Regions from separate parts of the Homo sapiens genome. Here all the other regions are linked to region 1. The links are contacts of gene promoters, found by promoter capture Hi-C in blood cells and fetal thymus (Javierre and others, 2016). All regions are on one chromosome and are shown on one strand. Each heading gives the region's core, a stretch centred on a gene start or on the middle of the fragment in contact. The rest is flanking DNA. Distances are from core to core; before and after follow the strand shown.

What was found. Contacts are between HindIII fragments. The CHiCAGO score rates a contact against its expected background, and 5 or more counts as called.
Region 2: a contact is called between a fragment that was not itself captured here and the fragment with the promoter of PDGFRA in region 1, in 2 of 17 cell types (total B cells and non-activated CD4 T cells). The highest score is 7.5, in total B cells.
Region 3: a contact is called between the fragment with the promoter of RASL11B here and the fragment with the promoter of PDGFRA in region 1, in 1 of 17 cell types (monocytes). The highest score is 5.2, in monocytes.
Region 4: a fragment that was not itself captured here is called in contact with the fragment with the promoter of PDGFRA in region 1 in 2 of 17 cell types (endothelial precursors and fetal thymus); the score reaches 6.9 in endothelial precursors.
Region 5: a contact is called between a fragment that was not itself captured here and the fragment with the promoter of PDGFRA in region 1, in 5 of 17 cell types (erythroblasts, fetal thymus, endothelial precursors and 2 more). The highest score is 9.2, in erythroblasts.
Region 6: a fragment that was not itself captured here is called in contact with the fragment with the promoter of PDGFRA in region 1 in 2 of 17 cell types (endothelial precursors and erythroblasts); the score reaches 6.2 in endothelial precursors.
Region 7: a contact is called between a fragment that was not itself captured here and the fragment with the promoter of PDGFRA in region 1, in 1 of 17 cell types (naive CD8 T cells). The highest score is 5.1, in naive CD8 T cells.

Annotation. Positions count from the first base shown.
Region 1 is chr4:54,227,224-54,231,225 of GRCh38, reverse strand. It overlaps PDGFRA (platelet derived growth factor receptor alpha), which reads right to left and starts at 1,933. Exons shown (of 23, transcript NM_006206.6): 1 at 1,811-1,933. RefSeq lists an enhancer at 2,635-3,460. The HindIII fragment of the contact is 8,996 bases long and covers 1-2,795 here.
Region 2 is chr4:52,365,323-52,369,324 of GRCh38, reverse strand. No RefSeq gene overlaps it. Among named protein-coding and RNA genes, the nearest start is that of USP46, 290 kb to the left of the region's middle. The HindIII fragment of the contact is 612 bases long and covers 1,588-2,199 here.
Region 3 is chr4:52,860,080-52,864,081 of GRCh38, reverse strand. It overlaps RASL11B (RAS like family 11 member B), which reads right to left and starts at 1,765. Exons shown (of 4, transcript NM_023940.3): 1 at 1,433-1,765; 2 at 758-814. The coding sequence starts at 1,574. It overlaps LOC124900700 (a long non-coding RNA gene), which reads left to right and starts at 1,877. Exons shown (of 2, transcript XR_007058115.1): 1 at 1,877-1,998; 2 at 2,351-2,933. RefSeq lists silencers at 1,446-1,740, 1,712-2,201. The HindIII fragment of the contact is 3,261 bases long and covers 1-2,460 here.
Region 4 is chr4:52,983,651-52,987,652 of GRCh38, reverse strand. The region is part of intron 5 of SCFD2 (sec1 family domain containing 2); the gene reads left to right. Among named protein-coding and RNA genes, the nearest start is that of SCFD2-AS1, 58 kb to the right of the region's middle. The HindIII fragment of the contact is 1,380 bases long and covers 1,182-2,561 here.
Region 5 is chr4:53,006,002-53,010,003 of GRCh38, reverse strand. All of the region lies in intron 5 of SCFD2 (sec1 family domain containing 2), which reads left to right. Among named protein-coding and RNA genes, the nearest start is that of SCFD2-AS1, 81 kb to the right of the region's middle. RefSeq lists an enhancer at 56-295. The HindIII fragment of the contact is 2,017 bases long and covers 1,329-3,345 here.
Region 6 is chr4:53,024,707-53,028,708 of GRCh38, reverse strand. All of the region lies in intron 5 of SCFD2 (sec1 family domain containing 2), which reads left to right. Among named protein-coding and RNA genes, the nearest start is that of SCFD2-AS1, 99 kb to the right of the region's middle. The HindIII fragment of the contact is 3,708 bases long and covers 1-3,635 here.
Region 7 is chr4:53,168,737-53,172,738 of GRCh38, reverse strand. The region is part of intron 4 of SCFD2 (sec1 family domain containing 2); the gene reads left to right. Among named protein-coding and RNA genes, the nearest start is that of SCFD2, 200 kb to the left of the region's middle. The HindIII fragment of the contact is 1,094 bases long and covers 1,623-2,716 here.

The sequences.
Region 1 (4,002 bases), core at 684-3,183:
TGCTTGCCTCCCACCCAGGAAGATGGAGTGAGTGGCAAGTTCTTCCAGGCACTCCTTGCGCACATCCTGAGGTCTTAGCACAATTCGGGGAGCGAAGTGCGGGACCGGCGCTCTGGCTGCGGGAGGGATGCACAACGCACAGCCTGCCAGGCCAGCAAGTCCTTCCCGACCAAGACGCGAGGCCAGGCCATCGGCAGCTCTCGCACACCTGGCCCGGCCCAGGCTCCTGGCTCCCTCTGGCAACGTACTCGGGTTGGGCCACACTCGTCGCTCCGACCTGGCCGACACCCTCCCGGAATAGAACAGCTGATCCCACATATTCAATGCCAAATGGACGCCGCCCGCTCCCTGGGCGCAGCCGGGCGGAGTTAATTTCGTGTGTAAATCTGGTTTCCATGGGGGTAGACAGCAGAGGAAGGAGAAGTACGCACAGACGGCTCTGAAGCCGGCAGGGAGAGGAATGGAAAAAAGGCCAACTAGAGAGGACCGAGCAGCGCTGGGCGAGCTCAGACGGCAAGTGCCACGCACCCCCGCGCGGAGAAGGGTGCCGGGTAGGGGGTGTCCAGGGCTCGGGTGCCCGGAGGGAGAATATGGTTTACCTCCCACCTTTCTGTCTTACCTGCAAACAAGTTTCCCCAGTTCCAAGTCGTCCCTAACTTCCTCACAAGAAGTTCGGCACCTTCCTGGAGACCTTTCCTCTCTTCCTGCCTGCGGCCAGAACTGAGCGAAAGCAGAGCCCCCGGGCAATGCAGAAATGATTCCACCGAGGAGGGGGCGCGGGAAGACAGGCGGGGGCGGGGGCCACGGAGCACAATGAGGGCCCCTTGGTGTGCGGTTCGAAATTCCTCAAATCCCAGTTGCTGGAATGCGAGGCGACGACGACTTCTTCACTCAGGGCCAAATGTGTTTGTCATTATTCCAGACCGCCCGCCCGCGCCGCCGCTGTCGCCCCCGCGCTAGGGCGTGCAACCCGAGCACACTGCCCGGCAGGCACCCGCTCTCCCTGGCACCTCACTGACCCAACAAACCGCTCCAGAGCGCCCCAAACCCTTGCCCACGCCCGCGCGCCTCTGCTTGTCCCGCAGCCGCCTCACCGCCGCGCCAAATCTGGCCCCGACTCTCTCCCAGAGCAGCGCCGTCCAGTAATCACGCGCATTCGGCCGGCTCCCTGTGCTGTAGGCCAACACCGAGGTCCGGTCTCCAGCCGAGCCCAGCCCGCCTCCTGCGCCCCGCAACCCCTTCGCGCGCCCCCCTCCACGCTCCCCTCCACGCTCCCCTCTCCCCACCTCCCCCTGGTCCCCCAGCCGCGCTCCACACCATGGGCTGCAGCGCTGTCCCGCCAAACCGCAGGCGAGGAATGAAAACACTCATTTAAAACCTGTCGCCTTCCAGGACCCACTGCCAAGAAGAGGGCAAACACCTCTGCCTCCACCCCCAGTTCCTTGGTGTTCGGCCCAGTATTCACGAACACCACCCCCACTCCCAAAAGAAACCTCAAAAATGTAAGCCTAAACAATTTCTTTGGGAGGCCATAGGGTTGTTAGAAAAACATTGTTTTTAAAAATAGGTCTGGAAAATGTGTGTTTAAAAAAAATACCTAGACTTTCTAACTCTATGGTTATCTCCCACCCGTCCCCAAGTGAAGTTTATTCCGAAAAAAAAAAATTACTCTCTGGACACACAACTGGAATCCAGCTCCTTTTTTTTTTTCTTGTCGCCCAAAGTTTGAAGTTACTTCGCTTTCTCCAGTCCCAGAGTCTGATCAGGGACTTCCCTTATAAACAAAAAATCATTTTTTCTTTTCCCTTACCTTCTCCTCCGATGTTATTCCGCAATGAATGTCCCACACATGGAGTAAAGAGCGTGCCCACGGCCTCCAATGATCTCTTGCAGTCTCCTCCTCTGTTTCTCTCCCTGTAGCTCCAACAGTAATGGGCTCAAAAACCGCGTTTTGTAATTGATTCAATGTTATAGTCCATCCTTCTAAAACTAATCATTTGCTCTAAGTAAATAGCTGTCAGGAAATAAGCCCCCCCTCAACCTTGGTCTCTTCAAAATAAAAGTTTCTCTCAAACTCCCTGCGCTCCGAATCTCCCAGTGTCCAGATTGCGCCTTCGCTTTTTGCTCTTACGCAATCAGGGGGTCCAGTCCCAACCCCCAGACTTCGACAACAACTGGGGGGCGGGGAGAAGCAGACCAGATGGGATGGGGGGTGGTGGAAGGGGGAGGTGTTGGTGCTCTGCCGGGAAAGAGGTTTTGTGAAACTACAAACAGCCCATCATTTCCAGAATGAGTTTGCCTCCCCATTTTGGGGTTATTTTCTTAGACTGCTATAGTTTTGTATTCTCTTTGAAAAGAAGAAAAGGAACATACAAAATTGCATTTAATACCCAGAGAGAATATAAATCTAGAATCAAGAAATGTCCCTTCTACAAACTCGGCCCAACGAGAAATAGGGCCCTCGGGAGAAATCTCCAAGCGGTTGCGCCGTTTTGAACTAGGGGTCTTTTAGGGGAAGGGCTATATAGTTGCTAGTTATTTAATAGGATTGGGCAAACTGTTGAGTCCAATATGACAATGATGGGTTTTTGTTTTGTGTGGTGTGTGTGTGTGTACAAGACTGGGTGGTCTGAAATACGGTACAAAGAAAAGAGGGTCTGTGTAGGTTTGGAACGTTCTCCGATAGAACGACCTTTACTCCCTTGAAGTCACTTATCTGGTCGTGCCTTTGTTTTCGGGGTTATCTGGGCGAGGTTGCCCTGGCTTCTATCTCGCATACAAAAAAAGCTCAAGCTTGGGCGTTTGAGGAATCGTACCACCGCCTCCGCGTCGTGGGGGAGGATGCCTTTTGATTCTCCCTCCGTTCCCTCCCGCCGCGTGGGTCGAACCCTACGAATTCCTTGGAATTGACAGCTGAGCCCCAAACCCTGCGCCCAAGGCGAGAGGCCAGTGTCGGGAGGAAACGATCCTGCCGGCGAGGGAAAGGGGGCGCTGATGCTCCAGGAACCAGACCTGGGCAGAGTGGGGCTTCCCAGCGACAGCGGGGGAGGGGAGCGCGTTCACCTTCATCGCTCTCTGATTTTTGAATTCTCCTGTTGGGGTTGGGGGTCATCCTTCATCCTTCTCCCTCAACCCCACCCCAACACACGCACTCTGAAAATGGCCAAAGTGGCCAGGTTGGGACTGGCATGTCCAACAGCCGTCTCCTCCTTCACCAGGAGGGTGGACACAGTGCAGTGGACAGGGGAGAGTCACAGAGAAGTACTCCAACGGGCGCGGTGCTGTGCCTAACCAGGACAGGATCTTGGGATGTCAGCCTCGAAAACAGGGCGCCTGGGGCTGCGCTGGGGGTCCCATTGCCGCAGTTCTTCTACGCGACCCGCTCTCGTGCATCTTCAGCTTGGGTGACTGCACCGCTCGCTATTACTTCCACATGTCCCTTCAGGAAATCATTGAAGGCAAATATATGAACAGCCCCTTGTTCGGAATGCTAACAGGATACCGTAATGTTTGTAGAAAATGAGCGGGAACAAACGATCCCCCCAAAAATCAGAGTGCGGAATAAAAGGCAAAAGCGGGTGCTGGGCCACATGCTGTTAAGTTGAGAACCGGGTTTTTAGGCTAGTTGCCCCAGAGGGTAGGAGGCGAGACAGACAGCCTACCCAGAGGGGCTGCTTTGCTTCGGCGACACTGTTAGTCCGGTCAAGCCAGGGTCTTCCGTCCGCAGGGCCCCAGCGCTCTCCGCCCACAAATGGTAACTTCACAGTTCATTTCAGAGCCGTTTAATGGGGCCCGAGAAGCAGTCCGGGCGGGAGTGTCTCCAGGCAGCGACTCCTCGGGAGTTTAAAGCAGAAAGCAATGGATGAGCAAGCGAGCACCCAGTTGTCCTTCTGGTAGTAATTACCTGCCTAATTTGAATGATGCCTTTGTTATGATCATTAACAAACATTTGCTAAAGGTTTCCATGTGTGACATTCTGGAAGGTTTAAAGGCCTGAGGAGC
Region 2 (4,002 bases), core at 644-3,143, 1.9 Mb after region 1:
AAACATTCAAACAACATAGGAAAATGCAAGGGGAAATAGTCAATTCATCAGAAATCTCATCAGTCTGAGATAACAAACATTCATATTTTGGTAACTATTCTTTTTTGCATTGGTTTATGTATGCATGCACGTGCACACACAATGTAGCATAAATAGAATTCTTACATGAATGATGGCTCCTGAAGCTCTTGTTTGCTGGTCAGTGTAGCTCAAACAATCCTCTGTTTCCTTGTTTAAGTGGGTGAAGACGAAAATTTGCTCTAAGCAAATAGAGAGTCCTTTGTGGCCTGCCAGCCTCTTTACTGTAAATGGACTGGGCTGTGGCACTGTGGAGACGGGAGCGAGTGTGTCGAGTTTAAGAGCAGAGGTACTAGAGTCAGACTGTGGATACCAAGAGCTCGGCACTCTTACTGAATAGCTGTGCAGACTTACAGGAGTTACTCAACCTCTCTGTATCTCAGTTTCCTCAGATATGAAGTAGGGGTGATACCTACATCATAGGGTTGTTGTGAGGATTAAATAAGAAGACACAGTAGTCCCCCTTATCTGTAGTTTTGCTCTCCAAGATTTCAGTTACCCACTGGTACAGTTCAACAAAATATTTTGAGAGAGAGACCCCATTCACATAACTTTTATTACAGTATATTATTATAATTGTTCTATTTTTAGTTTTTGTTGTTAATCTCCTACTGTGCCTAATTTATAACTTAAACTTTATCATAGGTATGTATGTATAGGAAAAAGCATAGTATATATAGGGTTGGCTAGCATTCACAGTTTCAGGTGTCCACTGTGGGTCTGGAATGTATCACCTGTGGATAAGGAGGGACTACTGTATATTAAAACTTAGAATATTTTTCCAGCCAAAGTAAAGGCTTCATGTTAACTGATATTATCAAAATACCCATAGTGTATGTAAATCCAGTAGGTACTCAGGTGAATTATTCATTACCATGGAGGTACATATACTTTATATTAAAAACATGGTTTTTTCCATAATACTAGCAACGGTACTGCTTGTTCACTCCAAAGTATAAGATCTGTGGGCTGCAAGGAGTTTTTGTAAATTGCTGTATTTTTTTCAGGGCATGAAAAACAAGAGGATGTAATGTTGGAGAGATATGACAAGGCCATGAAGTGGATGGTTTATTAATTCATTTGTTCATTTATTTCTTCATTCATTTATCCACTGATTGATAGTGCCAGGCACATAGTAAATATTTGTTGATTAAAAGGATAAATAAAAATAACTGAATTAAACATTTTGTTTAAACAAGATTATGCCTCAACGAGCTTACAATCCAATGACTCACTATGTTTATTTATTGGAAACACACATGCACACGCATGCGTGAACACACACACACACACCCCCCCTTTAAGAGAGCAATTTTCTGACAGCAAAATAGAGTCTTCTGGTTTAATTGCTTTTTAATTTAAGCCGCAAGGTACATATGGATGAAAATTGCCCAGAGACATCTAAATTAACTACACTTGTTTATTTTGTTAGGTTTACAAAGAGTAACAGAAAATGAATTTCAAAATTGAGTCCAAATGTTGACCACCCAATTAGATGGAGTGTAAGCTTTTCTTCAGAGTTATAAATCACACAGGTCCCATGGGGGAAAGACGCTGCCCTTATGAAAGTGCACTGAGGCAGGGCTGTCCCCACAGGAAGGAGGAAGAGCCATCACAACTAGGCAGAGCTAATTCTATTTTGCACGTGTGCCTTTGGAAAACCAGTTGAGTGCTCCCTTATGACAAAGAAGAAAATGCTTGATGGTGTAGTGAATGCTTCATTCTTGGCCAAACCCAATCCCTTTCTGGCATGTTTATCTTGGTGGAGCAAGGATGAGGTTCACCAAGGTATGTGCACAGGTTCCTAGTGGATAATAAAACAGATGCTGAGGGTAAATGTCCTCCAGCATTCAAGTAATTCACTTGGATATGCAAACTGCTTTAAGTACACAAAGAGCATTTTAATGAATTTTTCCTGCTCCTAATCCCACAGTGTCATTATTTGCCTTATATTAATTACTTACTACAGCAGATTCAGCAATAATTTTTCTCCTGTTGTTAGAAACATCATTGAATTTTATTGCTAGCCTTGTGTGTTTGTTAATAACTACCTTGGGGAAAAACAGCAACACTGGACTAAGGTGTTTTCTTCCAGATTTTATGACTTACAGTCAGAAAGCTTTATGTCAATTGTAAGAAATATTTCTCCATTTTATTAAACTTGGGATTCCTTCAAGAAAATGTCACTGACCAGAATAAAATCCATTGTTGGTGCTAGGGCTGCTACTATTGTATGGGAAAAGATCAACATAGCAATGTCAGCTATTAAAGAAGGTAAAACCCATTCCATTTACTTTTCCATTATTTGCTAAGTGAATTCAGTTGTAACCGAAAGAGGTGATGGAAAAACAGTATGTTATTTCTCTCACTTGTGCAATGCTTGGCACTGGGGATTCATGGAGGCTTTAATGAGACCTTGAGGAAGGCGCTCAATGACTGTCTGAGCTGCAAGCCCTGTCACACTGGCTGCTGCACATTCTACGTCTTGCCTTGTTCCATCTGGCTGTGGACCCAATCTAACGCCTTGTAAAATAGATCTTTCCAGGAACACATGTTTCTTCTTTATGTTAAATATACAAGAAAGAGAATCAATTAAAGGAAGAAATGTTACTAAAACTGATTGTCTTTGAAGATGCTACATTTCAGAGAGGTTGTGTTCACCGATTAAGTAAAATAAAACAGTTGTCTTTGGGAGAGTCTATAAGGTTCTAAGGACACCATTAAGAGACTCTTTCTTGATATATGAAATACTTAATGGGTATGATTCTCATTTCACAAACTCCAGCATAAAAGAAAGAAAACGTTGCGCATTTTCTGTGATTCAACTTCATTTCGGATTCTGAACTATCATTCTGTTGGACTTACGTCAGGAAGGGTGGGATCTGGTTACTGAGGAAGGTTTTTGTGGGGAATGTTTTCCTACTCTTTTTTTCCAGCTTCATTGAAGTAGACTTGACACACAAAAATTGTGTATATTTAAAGTGTACAAGGTGATGATATAAATTGTGAAATGATTACCACAACTAAGCTAATTAACATATCCATCACTTTCCAAAGTTATGACTTTGTGTGTGTGGGGGTCGGGGGAAGAAGACTCAAGATCAACTTTTTAAAGGAATTTTCAAGTATATAATACATTGTTATTAACTATAATCACCATGCTGTACATTACAGCTCCAAAACCCATTCTTCCCACATAACTGAACCTTTGCACTCTCTGGCCACCATCTCTCATTTTTCACCCCTCTCCCTATTCCTTGGCAACTGCCATTCTACTCTCTGCTTATATGAGTTCAACTTCTTTAGATTCCAGATATAAGTGAGGTCATATAGTATTTGTCTTTCTGTGCCTGGCTTATTTCACTTAGCATATAACGTCCTCTAGATTCAACCATGTTGTCGCAAATGGCAAGATTTCCTTCTTTTTTAAGGCTGAATGATAGTCCATTGTGTGTGTGTGTGTGTGTGTGTGTGTGTGTATCACATTTTCTTTACCCATTCACCCATCAATGGACACTTAGATTGTTTCCATATTTTGGTTATTGTAGTAATGTTGCAATTGAACATGGGGTACAGATATCTTTTCAAGATACTGATTGTATATTCTAGTTTTAATAGCCCATATCTGAAGCATGGATTTTGATATTAAGTGTTGCAATTTAAGGACAACCATTGAAAAATCTCAAGGTAATTTTGGTACAAATATGATGCTATTTCAATTGATGAAAGTTTTGAAATTATAGACCTTTCTTCATTTCAGACAAAAATCTAAAAATAGGTATCTTGAGCTCAATAAAATTGCTTTAAAATCCTTTCTTCTATTCCTATCAACATGCCTCTGTGAGATTGGTTTTTTATTTATTTGTTTTTTTTTTGAGACGGAGTCTTGCTCTGTTGCACATGCTGGAGCACAGTGGCACGATC
Region 3 (4,002 bases), core at 516-3,015, 1.4 Mb after region 1:
TTAGTAAACACACAGCCAATGTTATCAGTTGGAATAAAAATGTGATATAATTATAATCAACTCTACATCAAATCAGAAGGCTGCCATGTCTTATCTTGGGATAGCTTATACAGCTCATTTCAAATAATCCCCTATAGGTACTCATATGGTCTACAGAGTTAAGCAATTTGCTAACAGAGCATAGGCAGAAAGCTCTTAAGCCTCCCCAGTGGCTATTCTTAATCATAAGGATTGAAAAATGTGTCCTCTCATTTATTCGGGAATTCTCCTCCTAAAATTCTACCATCCAGTTGTTTGTCTTTGTTAAGAAGGAGGAACTTTAGGTTTACAACTGCTCTCCTTTGGCCTTTGCTTTAAAAGGTCACCTCTGAAAGGCAGCCAGCAGAGAAGGAGAGGGGTGGGGGAAGGAGCTAGGGACTCCTTTTTTTTTTTTTTACGACTTTTGCAGGAGTGTTTTGAAGGGAGAGGTTCTTGACTACAAAGGGTGCTTCCAACTGGGGTCACTATAGTTAAAACATACCAAGGGGAATACTTTCAGGCACTTGATAAAATGATGAATGGGCTTGGAATGGAATGAGGCCAGATGGTAGTTATGGGAGGGGGGCGCCATGGAGGGCTGGGGACTGGGGAAAGTTTTAAGTGGCGGGATCCTCAGGCTCGGACTGTCACTGAAAGAACCTCCCTGGGAAGCGCTGGAAAATGGGAACCGCAGTCCTCCTGCAATGGGACAGAATTTTTCTCAAATGCATTGTCTCACCTGCATTTCTTTCATAGTCACCGATGAATCGTTTGGTGAGGAACCGGACCACCAGTGCTGCACGTCAGAAAAAAGAACGTCAAAGTGTTAACCTTGGAAGTTAGATTGTTCTCCACCCCACCCCCTGCCTGGAAAACAGTTCTCCCAAAGAAAGCCATAGATGGCCACCAAGTGAAATTCCTACCCTGTAGCTCCTTGACCCTTCTTTCCAGACAAAAAGGAGGGGGCTAGAAGGCATCGTGAATTATGGCTCTGTGCAGCTGGAAGGCTCACTGGGCCCACCCCCTCCTCTGAGCCCGGCTGAGCCACACCTAAGCCTTCCAGTAGACCCATGTCTTCCTAACCTTCAAGACCTCCCAGGGGGGCTAGCTTCACTAACTCCCCTTTCTGTGCCAGGCATTGCCAGAGGCTCAAACACCCCAAAGTTCTGATGGCGGCGGTGCCGGTGGTCCCCAGAAAGCTGCCTGGCCATTCTTGATCCTTGTTTCCCCCGTCTGTGGAAGCAGGCGGGTGGCGTAGACAACGGCTAAGCCCACTCCCAAGGGGCAGCGGCTCCCTGCGCGGGGACGGAGAGCGGTCGGGCTGCAGCTCCCACCGCTCCCCACGCCTTGTTCAGCCTCAACTCCCGTCAGGGGTCGTCCAAGACCAGACCCAGGGCTAAGCGCGACGACTCACCGGTCTTGCCCACGCCGCTGGCGCCCACCACGGCGATCTTGACCAGGCGGCGGCCGGCGGCGCCCACACAGCAGTCGGAGGCCGCGGCGTTGCCCGGCGCGGGGTACTCGGCGATGGTGCACATGTTCTGAATGAGGCGCATCGCCTCGGCTGCGGCGCACCGCGCGGGAAGGGACTGAGGGACTGGAGAATGCTAGCGCTGCGCGGGAGCGGGCGGGAGGACCCGACTGCGGGGCTCCGCGGTAAGAAATAACAACAATAAATAAGTGCAGGTACGGGCGGGGTGGGGCCGAGCGCCGAGGTTCCGCAGGGCTCAGGCTCCAGACCCAGACTGCACTCGCGCGGCGCGCCGGCTGTTTTCTCCGCGGCCGGCCCCGCCCCCTCTCCCCACAGCCAATCCCGGGGCGCCCTACACGAGGCCCCGCCCCCGGCGCCGCTCCGCGCGCGCGACGCCCCCGGAGGCGCCTGGAGTCAGTGCGGAGCCCCGTGAGGCGCGGGGAGAAGAGGCAGCGGGCGGAGGGGAGCAGCGGGTGGTCCGAGGCGGCGCAGCCCAGGGTGGGCGCCTGGTAGGTCCTGCCGCGCGAGCATGGGGCAGCTGCTGTGGCTGCGGGGCCAGGAAGAGAGCGCAGCCTCCACAGAGCCATTCCGGACCGCTGCCTCCGCCGGCTCCACAGCCCACGCGCGCACTCGCTGCAGCCCCAACCTAGGGCGTCTGCTCTGGGCGGGCCGGGAGCGGTGTTTGCTCCCCGGCTTAGTGCCGCCCGCCCTGATTTGGAGCGATTGCACTGGCTTGGGTACATCCCAGCTCATAGATTCAGCTACAGTTGGCAATCATCCGCAAAGACTCCAGCCTAAGACCTTTAGACCCCCGTAAAATGTGACATTTGAAGCAAAAATATCATCCACGTTTTATCCTAGACCCACGTTCTCTGGCTCTTGTCGACGGCGCAAGCTAACGCAAACACACATGGTCGGACGCATGCACAGCACGCCTAGAAGCGGATCAAGAAGTAATTATAGAACAAGCTTTCCAGCGCCTCACTCAGTCACACCTCCTTCAAGAGCTGTGAAATGGAAAGAAAACAGTTACTCCAGCTGCGACGTCTGAAGGGGCCCCGCACTTCGTCCCTGGTCATAAGACACCGCAAGAGTTTAGTTAAGTGGCTTGATACCAAGGAAGAGGTGGGCCCTGCACTCCTAAAATCCCAAGCTCCGGCCCCTTACAGTCTCATCTGAGAAACACATCTTCAACGGCAGGCCAAATTCCTCCTGCGAGCAACATTCTGTAGCTGCAGCTGATGGCAAGATGTCACCAGCGGCTGATGGCAAAATGTCACCAGAGTCGCGGGTTAACCACCCCATCCGCTATCCAAGGCCCTCTCCCCGCTACCCTTTCAACCTTGTCCCAGAGGCTTTTATGTTGGGGTATGGCAACAAACTCTGTGGCTTTGTGTACCCACCCACATTAAAGGCTAAAATGTGAAATAAACCAGTGCCCTTATCCGCACATGTCAGTCATCTAATTTGACCCCCTCTTCCAGCCAGAACTTAATTGACCAGGTATTTGACAGAATTTTATGATCCTCAGCCAGTTCAGACTCTGAGATGAACCTCTTGTCTACAGAGGTTTAGGTGTTTGCAGGAATGCAAGGAGAAATAGAAAGGTAATCTCAAGGTAGCAAGTTTTCTAGGATGGGCCACGTAATTAGAAAGACACACAACCTTACAATAAACATAATAAAAGGCTGACTTCTAGGGAGATCACTAGAACGAAACAGCCATTTGAGTCAGAAAGAAAAAGCATTTCCAATATGCACCATGTCTTTCTGCATGGTTTAAATCAGACTTGAATGTCACTTCTATAAAATCAAACTTTGCAAGACTGTAATTACAGGTAACCATGTACTTTTAAAATCTTTCCCCTCCAAAAAGCCTGCTATTCTATCATGCTTACATGGTAAAATAATGATGTAGGCTAAAGTACTAGTTTAACATACACACACACACACACACACACACACACACACAGAGACATGACAAAAGCTGTCAAGGGGAATTTTGCTTTGAATCATTTAGTTTCTTGGGCTTGATTTTCATTACCATAAGCCCATACAAAACCCGTGATTTTTCTGTCTGCAACGCAAAGGCTTGATTTGGTGTTCTTATTTTAGATCTAAATGATCTGGCTATGCTTTAAAGAACACAGAAAAGAGAGAAGCAAGAGAAAGATGTAAAAAAGAAAAGAGAGCTATTCAAATTCCAAATACCTAGCATATAGCCCATCTCCACTCCACCTACCTCTCCTTCTGGGACATTCATAGAGTTAAAAAGAGGAAGGAGGCAAGGCAGGAGAAGTGACGATACATAATGAGCGCTTGTTTCATTCTAGGTTGTACACAGGGGTTTTGCATTTAAAAATCTCATTTTACCTTCATAACAGTCCTATGAGGTAGGTATTACCATTACTTCTAGTTGCCGTTATCTATTGCTGCTTAGTAAACCACCCCAAACTTTAGTGGCTCGCAGTTCTGTGTGTTGACTAGGCTTAGCTGGGGAGTGCTTACCTAGGG
Region 4 (4,002 bases), core at 622-3,121, 1.2 Mb after region 1:
ATATTCTGATTTACAAGAGGCTCTGATGATAATGGCACATTGCCAGTCCTCTACTCTCCCCTTTCTTTGGTGAAATGGCTCACCTTTCCATGAACTCTGTTTAAAGAGACACTCCAGAGGAGTCTGTACTCTGGAGACATCAAGGAAAAGGAGATGAAAAGGAGAGCAAGATCTAGAAAAGCATTGTTTTGAGGCGGAAAGTTTGTGAAGAAAGGAATGGCCATTTGAAAATGAAAGTTTACTCATTTATATTTTAGAAAAACAAATGATATTAAATAACTACAACAAAAGAAGAAAGGGAGTGACACATAGGTCATTTATTTTAAAAATCTTTTCAGGCCGGGTGCGGTGGCTCAACCCTGTAATCCCAGCACTTTGGGAGGCCGAGGCGGGCGGATCACGAGGACAGGAGATCGTGACCACGGTGAAACCCCGTCTCTACTAAAAATACAAAAAATTAGCTGGGCGCAGTGGCCGGCACCTGTAGTCCCAGCTGTTCAGGAGGCTAAGGCAGGAGAATGGCGTGAACCTGGGAGGCGGAGCTGCAGTGAGCCAAGATTGCACCACTGCACTCCAGCCTGGGCGACGGAGCGAGACTCCGTCTCAAAAAAATAATAAAAAAAATCCTTTCAAACTACTGTTATTTTGCAACTAAAAATTATAGAACATTATGTATCAAGCTCTAAATTCTCACCAGGGCTGAGCCACATGAAACTCCCATTTTATAGATAAAAATGTTCAAATATTGTCAGTATCATATGGCTTAGAATCTTAACCTCATTTACCACAACTACTGAATTCTTTCTTGTAGTCTAGAAATTTAAAAACTTAAATTAGGTACTTTAAGAATCCCATGCCGAGCGCAGTGGCTCACACCTGTAATCCCAGCACTTTGTGAGGCCGAGGCGGGTGGATCACGAGGTCAGGAGATCGAGACCATCCTGTCTAACATGGTGAAACCTCATCTCCACTAAAAATACAAAAATTTTAGCCGAGCGTGGTGGTGGGCGCCTGTAGTCCCAGCTACTCGGGAGGCTGAGGCAGGAGAATGGCGTGAACCCGGGAGGCGGAGCTTGCAGTGAGCCAAGATCGCACCACTGCACTCCAGCCTGGGTAACAGAGTGAGACTCCGTCTCAAAAAAAAAAAAAAAAAAAAAAAAATTTCATGAAGATCCTAAGCTTGAGATGAAGGTAGTGTCTTTCTTCTCTCTTCATCCCCTGTAACACCCAGCCCACAACAGTTGCTGAGAGAATACTTATTGACTTCTATCACAAGCTCAGAGTAATTTTGAACTTGCACCGTCATTATTAGCCACAAACGTTGCAGAATTAGATTCTTATCATTGAGCTTTCCCTTAATACCCAAAGTGGAGGATACAAGTTTTAAAATCTTACATATACTCGATGACTATTAAAAAAAAAACTTTACCCTTTTTTCCCCTCTAAATTGCTCAGGGAACGGGCAGAGGGAAGAAAGGTGGGGAGGTAATTCTCACGGGGCAAAGAGGCTCAGCTCTGGAGGGAAGAGGTGGAAGCCAGCCTCCAGCCCCAGGCACCTACCAAAGCCAGGGAGCCGGTTAACATGAGATCTGCTTGACTGCGACGTCACAGGGGGACAGGTGCAAAAACAGAATATGTAAAGGAATTGTATGCTAATTCTGTCCTCTCAGTGTCTTCGAAGAAATTATTTCCTGGCGATTTGTTCAGCACTTAAAAAAAAATGTCCATATACCCGCACCTCACCAATCTACCCATTCTCTTTGGTGTTTTTCTTATCTGATTGGAAATTTCCTAGTACATGTAGGGCTTTGTTCTAAGAATAGGTGAACACAGCTGGAATTGCAGTGTCATCTGTTGCATATTTGGAGAGACTTTCAAAAAAACTTGACCTTAACCTGCTAACTTCAACCCAGAATTCCAGACAGATATTTGGACCTTCTAAAATCATAAACATTTGATATTTATATTCCTGGACTAATTTTTTAAGCAAAAAATTTGCATCTGGCCTTTTGCAATCTTCCAAAGGAAGTTTTTCAGATACGTCTGGGGGTGTGATTTCTTAATAGAATAAAACTGCCATGGTTTTATAATATGCTGCTATATGGTGCTAGAAACCTCTCCAAAACACCCTCAAATTTATCAACACCAAAATCCCCAAAGATACAAAGATGATATTAGCATTTTATTATAAATGCATTTGGGATCCTCAATAACTTGAAAGCCTTCTATTTTAGCATTAGAATGAAACATAATGCTAATTAATAAATAAGGAGCTAAGCATGGTGCCAAATGAAATAAATATTTACTGGAAATAACCAAAATGACTTCACTGCAGCAGAAAGGTCCTAAAACTGTACTCAGAAGAATGCTGGCTGTTTCTGTGTTTTCACTAACACATGCTGAATACCATGTCCCACTCTTCATACCTGGGAGGGAGCAGGGCAAGGATGACCCTTACTGCGAAGGAGCAGTCACACAGTCAAACAGTATTAAATAAGTATTTTATGATCAATACCCTTAAAACCCCAAGAGAAATTTTAAAACTTAAATTGTCTGAAGCTTAGCTGTACAGCTCCCAATTAAATGAGCGAACTGTGTTTTTAAATACCCATGTCCTACTCAAAATTCCCCATAGCTTTTCTTTTAAAAGCTATAAAATGTGTTACTGGTGACAGAATTCAGCTTAATAAGTTTCAGTAGGTTTTGATAGTTCATTCACACTTTAGCTTATAAAAAGTGTAGGCAAGTAAGCAAAATCATTTTTCCTGTCTCCTGCATTATTGGAAAAGGTACAGAATCCAGCTGCATTTCATTAAAGTTGTTTTGGAAAGTTGAAGACAGCCCATGAGGAAAAGAGGACTCAAAATTAAATACTTGGAACCTGAGGTTAAACATTGCACATGGCTTTATGTGCCTCTCTCCCCTTATATTTGGATGACAAATGACTTCAGGCCTCTGCCGACCTAAGGATTTGTCGTTGATGATTCAACAAGAAGAACTACTTAGACTTGTTTAGGATTCATGGTGAACAGGCAGTTTCCCATTCATTCTATTATATAATGGTCACTCTTAGGTCACATATACACCAAAGGGGCCCTGGCTTCAGAGGAACTTAAACCTTTGTAAGCTCTTTTATGAGTCTAGTCCTATTGGAAAGCATTTGATTCCACTGTCAGTCACCTTGTGACTCTTTTGTTTCCCTGATAAATAATTAAAAGTGGGTTGGATCCTCATAGCAGTGTTGATAGAACACCCTTGACAATGATGGCTTTGTGGCACAGTGTTGAGGTCTTTATTTTATAGAGCAGCAGAAAAAGTTCCTATTAAAGACAACACTCAAATTCTTCACTTTGTTATGTCAGTGATTTTAATATTGTAAATGTTCAACTTCAACCCTTTTGTTTCACTATGAATATATCCAATATAGCCTCCAGAGTTTTACAAAAGGTGCCCTTGGAGTAACTCACCCACTGGGGTTATATTTACCACCCTAGTGGCTTCCTGTTTGGGAACCTGGCAGGGGCAATGAGTAGGCTTGAGATGCTTTTTGAACAATCCACCATTCTCTTACATTCTCCTTCATGTACACAGGTACTCCAACTGCTTTGCAGAGAAGTGGTAAACTAATAACCCTATTTACTCAGTCAAAAACTATGTGGGAGTCAATATTTGGGGTGAGGCTTTCTCTTCAGAAAAGAAATGTTTGGCAAAACAGCCTAAATTCTCCAGGATAGAAGAGATTGATGGAGCATCTATCTTAAGAAGGGTGTAGGCAAGGATACTAGGTTAACTCCTAAAACAAATATAAATGTTTCTTTTCCATATTCCAGGTAATGAAACCAACACGAGAAAGGAGAGGGTTTGTCACTCTAGTTCCTCTTGATTCTTTCCAGCAGAGGGCACCATTTTCATTATCTAGATGGGTTTCACAGTTTTAGACATGGGAATTGTTAGGTTCTATAAATTAGAATAGGCAAATTACTGAAGAGGGCCTGGAAACTG
Region 5 (4,002 bases), core at 1,088-3,587, 1.2 Mb after region 1:
TGTGCTCCAAGCTCTCAGTGCAGCCCGAGAAAGTATAGTGAGCACAGAGCTCCGGTAGGCCAGCAGGCCAGTGAAATGCAAGGGGTTTTGGGAAAGCTACAGGAAACCAGACTGAAGGTGTTTACAGGGCCATCCATGTTCCCACCTGGAATGTGTGTGCTGCTTCCAAACTTGTTCCTCCAGAAAGATAGCTTCAAATTGGACAGGGTTCTGAGAAATGCAATTAAAATGATAAAGGGAAGCAGGGGGTGATAGTGGGAGAGCTCAGATGCCATAATAGTGAAAAAACAAGAAGGTTAGGATCCTTCAGTCTGTAGAAATGGAGGTTGAGACTATGTGTGTCTATAAATGGAGGTTATATATAAGGTCAGCACTAAGTCTCAGAATTACGAGAACGAAGGGAAAGCCATAATCATTTGTGAAGACTTTGACTCCAGTTTCTTCTTTTGTAATCCAGATTCCAGAATATGTTCAGCGGCACATCTGTCCTACAAGGTGCTTGCTAAAAAAAGGTATTCTTTAGCCAAGTAAGTTTGAAAATCTCTGCATACCATGTGTTCTTCCAGTAGATTCTCCCTTTACATTTGATATTAAAAGATCTCAAAAGGTTGTTCTTAAGGAAAACTTATTTAACTTTGTGGTTCTCAACCAGTATTTACCAAACTCATTTGACCATGTAATCCTTTGTTTATTTAGTGCCTATGAGGACTTTGGAAAATGCTTCTGGGAAGATAGGACTCTAAGATTATTAAGGTCCCTGGAAGGAAGTTAATCCATGACAGAGGAAGCGCTACCAACACTGTGAAATTTATTACTTCTAGAGCCAATCAATACTGGACGAAAATAATAAAGGGGCTGATAGTGAGAGAGGACTAATAGTTTGCAAGTAGTAGGAATTTACAGTCATTTATGGAAGATGGCAAGTTCGTCAAAGGTAGTTGGGAGGTGTGGCTGACCATCCAAAGGAAAGCCATTAGAGTCCCCACAGTGCTTTTAGAGGGGTTGTTAAGACCCAGATCTCCACATCAGGCTTTAGATTGTTCTGTCAGGATCACACATCTCTTCTGCACCATCAAAAGAGAAAAGTACATAGAAGAAACTCATTTAAGTTTTGGCTGAATCAAGCAGATCGTTCTGCATGATAGTGAGATTATAGACAATTGGAAAGTACTTCTATTGAACTTTGAGGCCAGTCACATTCTATTAAGTTTCAGTTCATGCCCATTAAAATAATAGCAGCTGGATTCTATAGCTTTTCTCTGAAAACCTGGCTAAGCATTCAAGTTCAACAGTTTTGTAGATTTGTGCTTTTTTTTCTCTAGAAAGCTTTCATTATTTTGAAGAGCGTTTTATACATGCACCTCTCCATTCCCTGACCCTGGCTGACTTTTTACCCTTTCTCTTCCCCACCTCACTGAGCAAGTTTACATAGCTACAGTGTCCTTCCAACATTGTAAAGAGTTTTGTTGTTGTTGTTATTTATTGGACGTTAGGGAGAGCAAATGAATATGATAAGTTTAAAAACTAAGTCTTAGAATAGTTTTCTTTCTCTCAAGCACATTTTAGTTTCTTCTCCTTTTGCTTCATCTTTCCCATTGTGCTCATTATTCTGCCTTCTCCATGCTTCTCCATGATGCTCTGTGCCAGGGTGGGGAGGGAGAGGGGAAGGGGGGGTGTCATTCTACATGGACTGCACCAGTAGGCTCTCTTGCCCTATGGTTTCTGGATGGGATTGGCTAATGCAGAGGCATCAGCTGTAGGTTTTAAGAGGAGAATGAGGCCACCCTCTCCATGGAGCTGTTTTCTCTGTATTCTAGTGCTTCCTGCATGGGCTCCTTGGGCCTACGCATGACCCTGGACTACTAGCCCTCCACTCGTTAGTTTCCTTTAACCTTGCCCACATGTTTGTACATAGTCCTTTTATTCAACTCTCCTCAAATTACCTAGTTTGAGTGAGTTATCTGTTTCCTGCAGAGACTTTGACTGATGTACCCACCTTCCTGTAACCCTCTCCTTTTTGCTCTCCAGCCAGGAACATCATTCATTAGAGCCCAGCTCATGTTCATCTTCTTAAGGAAGCCTCTCTGTTCAGCATGAAGCTCTTCTTGAGATCTCCTAGCTCTTACAGTCTGCCACACTCATAAGCACCTAAAAATGCTCTCTCATGTACTGACTTAAATGCACTAAGACCAATGCTCCTCATGCTTATAAATAATGTTTCATGGATATGTAGGAAGGATGGCTAGTGAGTAGAGGTTGCCAATTGGCAGCCTGACTTTAGGCAGACAATTAGCAGTTATCAAACTTTGATAGAGTACTTCCAGGTGCTGTTAAGCCACACTTAGAGTTGGATACTATTATTACCTCCATTTTACAGGTACAGATGCTGACACATAGAGAAGTGAGGTAGATTGCCCCAGAACATACCTATAATAAGTGCTTGAGCTAGGATTTGAACCTAGACAGTCTAGCTCCAGAATCCATGCTCTTAACTCTGTACTAAGCTACCTCTCACAGTGCTTTTAAATTTTCAAAGCAACAATTATCAGTAACAAGTCTATCCTTCCTCCCTCCCTCCCTCCCTCCCTCCCTCCCTCCCTTCCTTCCTTCCTTCCTTCTTTCCTTCCTTTCCTTCTTTCTCTCTTTCTTTTCTCTCTCTCTCTCTCTCCCTCTCTCTCTCTCTCTCTCTCTCTCTCTCCCTCTCCCTCTCTCCCTCTCTCTCCTCTCAACAAGGTCTTACTCTGTTGCCAAGGCTGCAGTGCAGTGGCACAATCATGGCTCACTGTAACCTTAAACTCCCGGGCTCAAGCAATCCTCCCCTCAGCCTTCTGAGTGGCTGGGACTACAGGCACGTACCACCATGCCCAGCTGATTTTTAATTTTTTTTTAGAGACAGGGTCTCATTACGTTGCCCAGGTTGGTCTCAAACTCCAGACCTCAGGCAGTCCTCCCACTTCGGCCTCCCAAAGTGCTAGGATTATAGGCGTGAGCCACCGTGCCCAGCCCATATTTCATTTTAAAACCTGCATTTCTAGTGTCTCTTGAAAAAATGGAAGATCTGGCTGTTGGGATCCATAGGCCACAGCAACAGTTGGCCAGAGCAAGCAGGAGCTGCCCTGTTCAGGTGGGGTCCATGCCCTTCACTTGTGAGGGCCTCTACCCAGCCTGTTCCTGAATCCATGCTCCTTCCTGACTTCCAGAGGCCTTGAGTCTGGGATCTCTGCATGAAAATGAGTTTTACATGTGGTCTTTGGAAATCACTTGCATGCCTTTAGTCATTTCCCACATGAACTTCTGTTTCCCCAGCTAGATTAGGTTTAGGGAGGACAGTCTATATTTTAAGCTTGCCTCAAAACCTAAAACAGAACAGGTTATACTCAATAAAAAACCTGTGAATTTGAAGAAAACAACCTGCTTCAGTTAACTAAGTAAGCTATTAATAACTTAGGTAACTCAGCAAGGACAGGAGAGGCATGTTTATTCTTGGACTGGAGTTTATCCCTTAAAGCAGTTTGCTTCTAAAGCCAAACAAGTAAAATCTCTGGGTATTCTTGAAGATAGCTGCTATTGGCAATATTGCCCCTATTTTTGATGAAAGGCGAATATCTACTTCACCTCCAGGCCCAATGGTGTGAAGTTTGTAGGAGAGAAAACAACCACTGCTTCAGAGAGCTATGGTAGAGGGGAGAGCCAATTTTAGGTGGAGCAAGGTGAAAGGAAGTTTCAAAGAAGTTGAGAACATAGAGGCTTTTGCTGGTGATGGACATGAGTCCAGAAGGCACAGTGATTGGGGGCTGGGCAAGGGGAAATGGAGGGAGAGCAGGAATTTTCAGAGCCCATCTTGGGAACAGGAGTGATGAGGAATGACTGGGTCCCTCTGGTGACAGATGTACAAAGGGATGCATGACATGCTTTTGATGGTCCTGATGGTTCCCAAAGCAGATTGCAGTCATGAGGCAGTGAGGGTTGAAGGAGCGTCAGGAGTCGGGGAGGGAGAGGTTT
Region 6 (4,002 bases), core at 532-3,031, 1.2 Mb after region 1:
CCGGGGAAGAGCTTTCTTCCTCTTCTTTTTTTCTTCTTACTCTCTCCCTCTATCCTTCCCTCTCTCCCTTTTCTTCCATCTCTATTGAATAAGAAGCATTCCATCTCTATTGAATAAGAAGCACTCTATTGAATAAGAAGCACTCTATTGAATAAGTAGCATTGAGCCATAATATGAGGAAATCACCGAAAAAATAAGACATAGTTCCTCCTTGATTGTGTTGAACAGAGAACATATATCCATGGGAGAGAGAAGGAGTACTATAGTATGATTCACAAAGAATTAGCCTACAAATAATTTTACCTAGTTTTTCCAAGGTATGTTTATATTTGTTATCAATAAAATAAAATATTGGCAGTATTTTGTCTAATTTGACAACAAAAAGAATTTAAAGAATAAAACTTTAAGCATTTCTCTCATATTTTTCTTTTTCTCTTTTATTTATTTATTTATTTATTTTTTGAGACAGGGTCTTGCTCTGTCACCCAGGCTGGAGTACAGTGGCGCAATCTCTGCTCACTGCAACCTCCGCCTCCCAGGTTCAAGTGATTCTCATGCCTCAGCCTCCTAAGTAGCTGGGACTACAGGAGCCTGCCACCACGCCCAGCTAATTTTTGTATTTTTAGTAGAGACAAGGTTTCACCATATTGTCCAGGCTGGTCTCAAACTCCTGACCTCAAGTGATCAGGCTGCCTCGGCCTCCCAAAGTGCTGGGATTACAGGCATGAGCCACCATGCCCGCCCACATATATTTTTCTTAAAACTTTAATATTGCTACCATAGTCTATCCCATAAAGAAAAAAAAAATAAAATCTTAATTAGTACAAAAATGTACTTACTTTACTTTCTTTCTTTATTGTTTTTCTTTATGTATTTATTTAGAGATGGGGTCTCACTCTGTCACCCAGGCTGGAATGCAGTGGTTTGAATGCAGCTCACTGCAGCCTCAGCCTCCTGGGCTCAAGCGATCCTCCCACCTCAGCCTCCCGAGTAGCTGGGACTACAGGTGGGTGCCACCACACCTGGCAAATTTTTGTATTTTTTGTAAAGGCAGGGTTTTGCCATGTTGGCCAGGCTGGTCTCGAACTCCTGGTCCCAAGTGATCCGCCTGCCTTGGCCTCCCAACATGCTGGAATTACAGGCATGAGCCACCGCTACCAGCCTACTTTTTATTAAATATATGTATATTAATTGTTCATACTCTTCTGTAGATCACTCCCAGACTTCCAGGTGAAGAACTTAAAGAATTGCCAAAGTAACAAATGCAAAGAGTAGGTGGAGTTATAGACTCTTGGGGCTGGGAGAGATTTCTCTAATCACCCTATCCAAGGACGTTGGAAAACCAACACTGAGCAGGTCAGCCCACTTTACCTACATCACTGCGCAGGACACTTCAGAGCTGGACCAGTTCTTTCCTGAAGGTGCATCAGACTGTGGCCAAAAAAAAAAAAGAAGTGTGTGGGGCTGGGTAACTGAGCAGACCTCATGAAGGAGGGTGGACAAACAAGGCCTGGAAGGATGGGAAGAACAGGGTAAGCTGAGAGGATGTGTTTGCAGAACTCTGGAGTTTAGAACCCTTCAGGGAAAAAAGCCCATGGTTCTGGATGAGGCTAGCTCAACAAAAGACAGGTCTGTTCACTGATAATGTGGTCAATTAGGAACTTAAGGAGATTGTTACCTTGGTGTATATTAACTCTATCAGGTCACTAGGGTGACAGGCAATTCATTGCTGTTTCAAAACAGTAATTTGTACACATATCATTTGGCCAGAGAAGTTATACACTTTCACTAGCAGGGAAAAAACTGAAAGAGTTTAGTAACCATTGTCAACTTTGGAATTTGTCATTCTCCATTTCTTGCCTTTTCCTTTTAAGAAAAAATGATGGTTTGAATTTAAAAGTTTGCATTTTATGTTTTTTCTGCTTGCCCTGCACTGTATCCTATTAGAGTGACCTTCAAGTAATGGCAGTACTACTACTCTAGTTGTCTAGAAGTTATGGAGTATTTCAGACACCCAAAAGGATCTGGCTCCTAGAGTGATTGCCTAAAACGCTACATGATGATAAGCCAGTATGGATTTGCAGGGTTCTCACTGTAATTTTATCCACATGTCCCTAGCTGGCAAGATTAATTCAGCCCTGAAAATGCTAATCTTCAAACATGGCTCTGATATCCTTGTTTCCCATTTAGTGCATCATTTAAAAACTGGCCTTGTGGCTATGTTGCTGTAGCAGGACTGCACTAGGAAATTGGAGGCAGCATTCTTATCTCATGTTAAGTCATCTGTTTAGCCAACAAATACCTATAGAATGTCAACCATGTACCAGGCATTGTGCTAGGCGTCGGAAGCACAGTGATAACTCCTGCCCTGGTGGAACTTAATTAAGTTATGCCTCTAATTAGCAGTGGGCTCTGGGCAAGTTTTCCTTTCTAAATGCAGGACTTGGACTGGATATTCTTGAAATGTCTTTTACAATGGGAATATTCTACTCCTGAAAGCAGCGAGTTTCCTAGAATCTCTGAGTGGAACTGAGGGGCAATTTAAACAGTGTGGAAGAAACTCTGTAATCACAGTTTAACAAAAAGAATTTTAGTTTTTTCTGTGTCTTATTTTGTTGTTGTTGTTGTTTTTCTGGTGGTGATAGCTTACTTTTCTGGAAAATTGTATGAAATTTTTCCTGAGAAGGAGAAAGAAAAAAAAAATGAAAAACCGTAGTCATTTACATATCCATGTTCATGAAAGTACATAAGAACATAATTCAGTCTAAGTAAAAAGATTTCTTGAAACTTTTAACATATGAAATTATCCCTGTGGAAATCAAGTATGTTAGTTTTATACATGTATTTAACAGAGGTTACATTTTGACAAACTATTATTTAAAAATCCAGTCCATAAGATCCATGAGGTGACTCCAGTTAAATAAATGTTGTGTGTGTGCTGTGGTGCACAGCAGCAGGCCACAGGGGCCTCGTCCTCCAGGAGCTCACAATGTGGTAGTTTTTCCCGCATCAATTGAATAGCTTTTTCAAAATCTCTTTTTTTAACTCAAATTTTTAGCATTTATAATGGAAATATTCAGCTCTTGGATAGTCGGTAGATCACAACAGAACATGCTGAGATGGCATAAGAGTGAAAAATTAGCATAAGAGTCCTACTTGGCAGTGAAAAATTGTGCTTTGATAAACTGATAGAGATTGAGAAATAACTATCTGCCTACTGTGTGATCTCTAAATTGTACTTACTAGGCATTCTCCATCAGCAGCATGGAGAATATATGTTTTCTTTGATGTGTTTTTTGGTTTGGAAGTATCTATGTTGTTTGGCATCAATTAAACTAAAAGATGTTCTCATAGATTAACAAGAATGTTTATTTTAATGTTGATTTTCTAATTTCATTGTAAGAAGGATATCCCTATCTGTGCTTCATTCATGATAACTTGGAAATAAAGATATTTTTATTTGTATAAGTGTGATTTGAGAGTTTGAAAAACTGAATGTGGTATTATATGACCAAGTATAGATTTCTGTTTCAGATGTGGCCACCCAGAAGGGCTAAGCCACCTTCCCCTCTATTTCTTACCCCCTTCTTCTGTTCATTCCATTCCTTTTTTTCGTAACTATAGTAATGGAAGCTTTCAGCAGAGCCACACAGAGGGGCCGTGGAGATGCCCACAGGTTGGATTAATCACATGTGCCCTGTTTATCTGTGAATAGATAAGGTAGAGTATAACCAGTGGGACAAATGCAGTGGATACTCACAGAGCCTAAGCTAATATTCTAGGGGGAGTCAAGAGGGGTTTAGAAGCTGTGTCAATGTCTTCAGGTTACCAAGGACTGCTTTCTTCAAAATGCTTGGGCCCTGCGATAATCTGAGCCAATGTGTGATGATTGAGGTGGTAACAGGACCAGAGTTAAAGGGACTCTGGAACCCCTTCAGAGTAACGTCATCCCATGGGTTAGCTGAAAACCTTATTTGGAGTGGCTGAAGGCAAAAAAAAAAA
Region 7 (4,002 bases), core at 920-3,419, 1.1 Mb after region 1:
TGAATAAACTTAGGGGACTGAAATTATATCAAGTATCTTTCTGATTATGATGATATAAAACTAGAAATCAGTAACAGGAAAAATCTTGGGAAATTTACAAATATGTGGAAGTTAAACAACATGCTCCTGACCAACCAATGGGTCAAAGAAGAAATCAAAACAAAAATGAAAAAATGTCCTGAGAAAAATGAAAGTGGACAAACAATATACCAAAACTTAATGGATACAGTAAAAGTAGCTCTAATAGGGAAGTTTATAGCAATAAACACCTATATCAAACAAAGAAGAAAGATCTGAAATAAACAACCTAATGTTTTATCTCAAGGAACTAGAAAAGAACAAACTAAGCCAAAAGTTAGCAGAAGAAAGGAATTAACAAAGATTACAGCATAAATAAATGGAATAGAGACTAAACAAGCAATAAAATCAATGACAGGGCCAGGTGTGGTGGCTCACGCCTGTAATCCCAGCACTTTGGGAGGCTGAGACAGGCAGATCACAAGGTCAGGAGATTGAGACCATCCTGGCCAACAAGGTGAAAACCTGTCTACTAAAAATACAAAAATTAGCTGGGTGTGGTGGTGCGTGCCTGTAGTCCCAGCTACATGGGAGGCTGCAGCAGGAGAATCAGTTGAACCCAGGAGATGAAGGTTGCAGTGAGCCGAAGATCACACCACTGCACTCCAGCCTGGTGACAGAGTGAGACTCTGTCTCAATAAATAAATAATAAATAATAAATAAATAAATAAAATAAAAATAAAAATAAATAAATAAATAAATAATCAAATCAATGACATTAAGAGCAGATTTTTTGAAAAGATAGCTGAAATTGACAAACCCCTAGCTAAACTAAGAAAATGAGAGAGAAGATTAAAATAAAATCAGAAATTAACGAGAAGACATTGAAGGTGATACCACAGAAATACAAAGAATCATAAGAGATTACCATGAACAATTATACAGCAACAAATGGGATAACCTAGAAGAAACTGATACATTCCTAGACACATACAACCTACTATCATGAAGAAATAAAAAATCTGAACAGTTAATAACAAGTAAGAAAATTGAATCAATAATAAAATCTCTCCCATCAAAGAAAAGCCCAGGACCTGATGGCTTTATTGCTGAATTCTACCAAACATTTAAAAAAGAACTAATGCCAATCCTTCCCAAACTCTTTGAAAAAATTGTAGAGAAGGGAATAATTCCAAACTCGTATCTTGGTACCAAAGCCAGAGAAGGAAATTACCAGGAAAGAGAATAATAGGTTGATATCTCTGTTGAACACAGACACAATCATTCTTAACAAAATGCAGTAGTAGCAAACTGAATTCAACAATATACCAAAAGGATAATTCACAATGAACAAGTTGGATTTATCCCTGGGATGCAAGCATGGTTCAATATATGCAAATCGAAAAATGTGAAATAGCACATTAACAGAATGAAGGTTAAAAACCCTATGATCATCTTATTAGATGCAGAAAAAACATTTGACAAAGCCAACATCCTTTTACAATAAGAACTCTCAACAAATTAGGTCTAGTAGAAGGGTACCTCAACACAAGAAAGGCAAGCTCACAGCTAACATTTTACTCAGTGGTGAAAAGTTGAAAGCTTCTCTTCTAAGGTCAGGAACAAGACAAGGATATACACAGTCACCACTTCTATTTAGCATAGTACTGGAAGTCCTTATCAGATCAATTAGAGAAGAGAAAGAAACAGAAGGCATCAAAATAGGGAATAAAGTGAAATTGTCACTGATTGTTGATGACATGATCTCATGTATAGAAAACCCTAAAGATTTCACTAAAAGCTGTTAGAACTAATACATGAATTCAGTAAAGTTGCAGGTTACAAAATCAACACAGAAAAATGAGTAGCATTTCTATACACCAACAGCTAACTAACAGAAAAGGAAATCAAGAAGACAATCCCATTTACAATAGCTATAAAAAAATACCTAGGAATAATTTTATCCAAGAATGTGAAAGATCTATTCACTGAAAAGAATAAGACATTGATGAAAATAATAGAAGAAGACTCAAATAAATGGAAAATTATTTCACGCTCATGTATTGGAAGAATTAATATTGTTAAAATGTTCATATGACCCAAGGCAATCTACAGATTCAGTGCAATTTCTATCAAATTTCCAATGGCATTTTTCACAGAAATAGCAAAAACATTCTAAAATTCATATGAAACAACATAAAAACTCAAATAGCCAAGACAATCTTGAGTAAAAAAGAACAAAGCTGGAGGCGCTGCACTACTTGCTTTCAAACTATTTTACAAATCTACAGTAATTACAATAGCATGATACTGGCCTAAAAATAGATACATTGATGGTTGAAACGAAATAGAGAATCTAGAAATGAACCAATGCATTTTCAGAAAATTGATTTTTGCCAAAGATGCCCAATCCACACAGTGGGAAAAAGGATGGTGTCTTCAATTAAAGGTGCTGGGAAAACTGTGTATCTCATGCAAAAGAATGAAACTGAACAGTTTTGTATATCTCACACCATATACAAAAATCAACTGAAAATGAGTTAGACACTAAATGTTAGACCTGAAACCATAAAATGACTACAAGAAAACATGCAAGAAAAACCACACTACCTTTGTCTGGGCAATGAGTTTCTGTATTTGACCCCAAAAACTCCAGCAACAAAATAGATAAATAGGATTACATCAAATTAAAAAAGCTTCTACATAGTAAAGGAAACAATTAACAGAGTGAAGAAGCGACCTAGAGAGACTGGGAGAAAATATTTGCAAGCCATGCACTGGATACATCTGTAATATCCAGAATATTTAAGGAACCGAAACATCTCAATGGTAAGAAACAATCCAATTAACGAATGGGAATGGGACCTGAACAGATATTTCTCAAAAGAAGATATACAAATGACCAACAAAGAAAATGAAAAACATGCCCCAAATCACTAATCATTAGGAAAACAAGTTAAAACCACAATGAGATATGATTGTATTAGAATGGCTATTATTAAAACAACAAAAAAAGATGTGTGGGCGAGGATGTGGAGAAAAGGGAATCTGTACGCACTGTTGATGGGAATGTAAATTCATACAGCCGTTATAGAAAACTATACAAAGGCTCCTTAAAATATTTTGAATTACCATATTATCCAGCAATACCACTTTGGGTATATATCCAAAGCAAACGAAATTGCCATGTTGAAGAGATATCTGCACTCTCATGTTCATTGCAGGGTTATTCACAGTAGCCAAGTTATGGAATCAGCCTGCATGTTCATCAATAGATGGACAGATAAAGAAAACATGGTATATATGTACACAATGAAATACTATTCATTCTTTTTTTATTTTTTATTTTTTTATTTTTTGAGTCAGAGTCTCGCTCTGTCACCCAGGCTGGAATAGAGTGGTGCCATCTCGGCTCACTGAAAACTGCCTCCCAGGTTCAAGAGATTCTCTTGCCTCGGCCTCCCGAGTAGCTGGGATTACAGGCGCCCAGCTAATTTTTGTATTTTTAGTAGAGATGGGGTTTCGCCATGTTGGCCAGGCTGGTCTTGAACCCCTGACCTCAGGTGATCTGCCCGCCTCAGCCTCCCAAAGTGCTGGGATTACAGGCGTGAGCCACCACGCCCGGCCTATGCATTCTTAAAAAAGAAGGGAATCATTCATTTGCGACAACATGGATGAACCTGGTGTACATTATGTCAAGTGAAATAAGCCAAGCACAGAAACAAATACCACATCATCTCACTTATATGTGGAATCTAAAATAACTGAACTCATAAAAGCAGAGAGTAGAATGGTAGTTATCAGAGACTGAGGCATGGAGAGAATGAAGAGATATTGGTCAAAAGATACAAAGTTTCAGTTTAGACAGGAAGAATATGTTTTTTGAGATCTGTTGCACAGTGTGGTGACTATAGTAATACTAACATACTATATATTTCAAAATTACTGAGAGTAAATTTCAAATGTTCTCACCACAAAAAAATT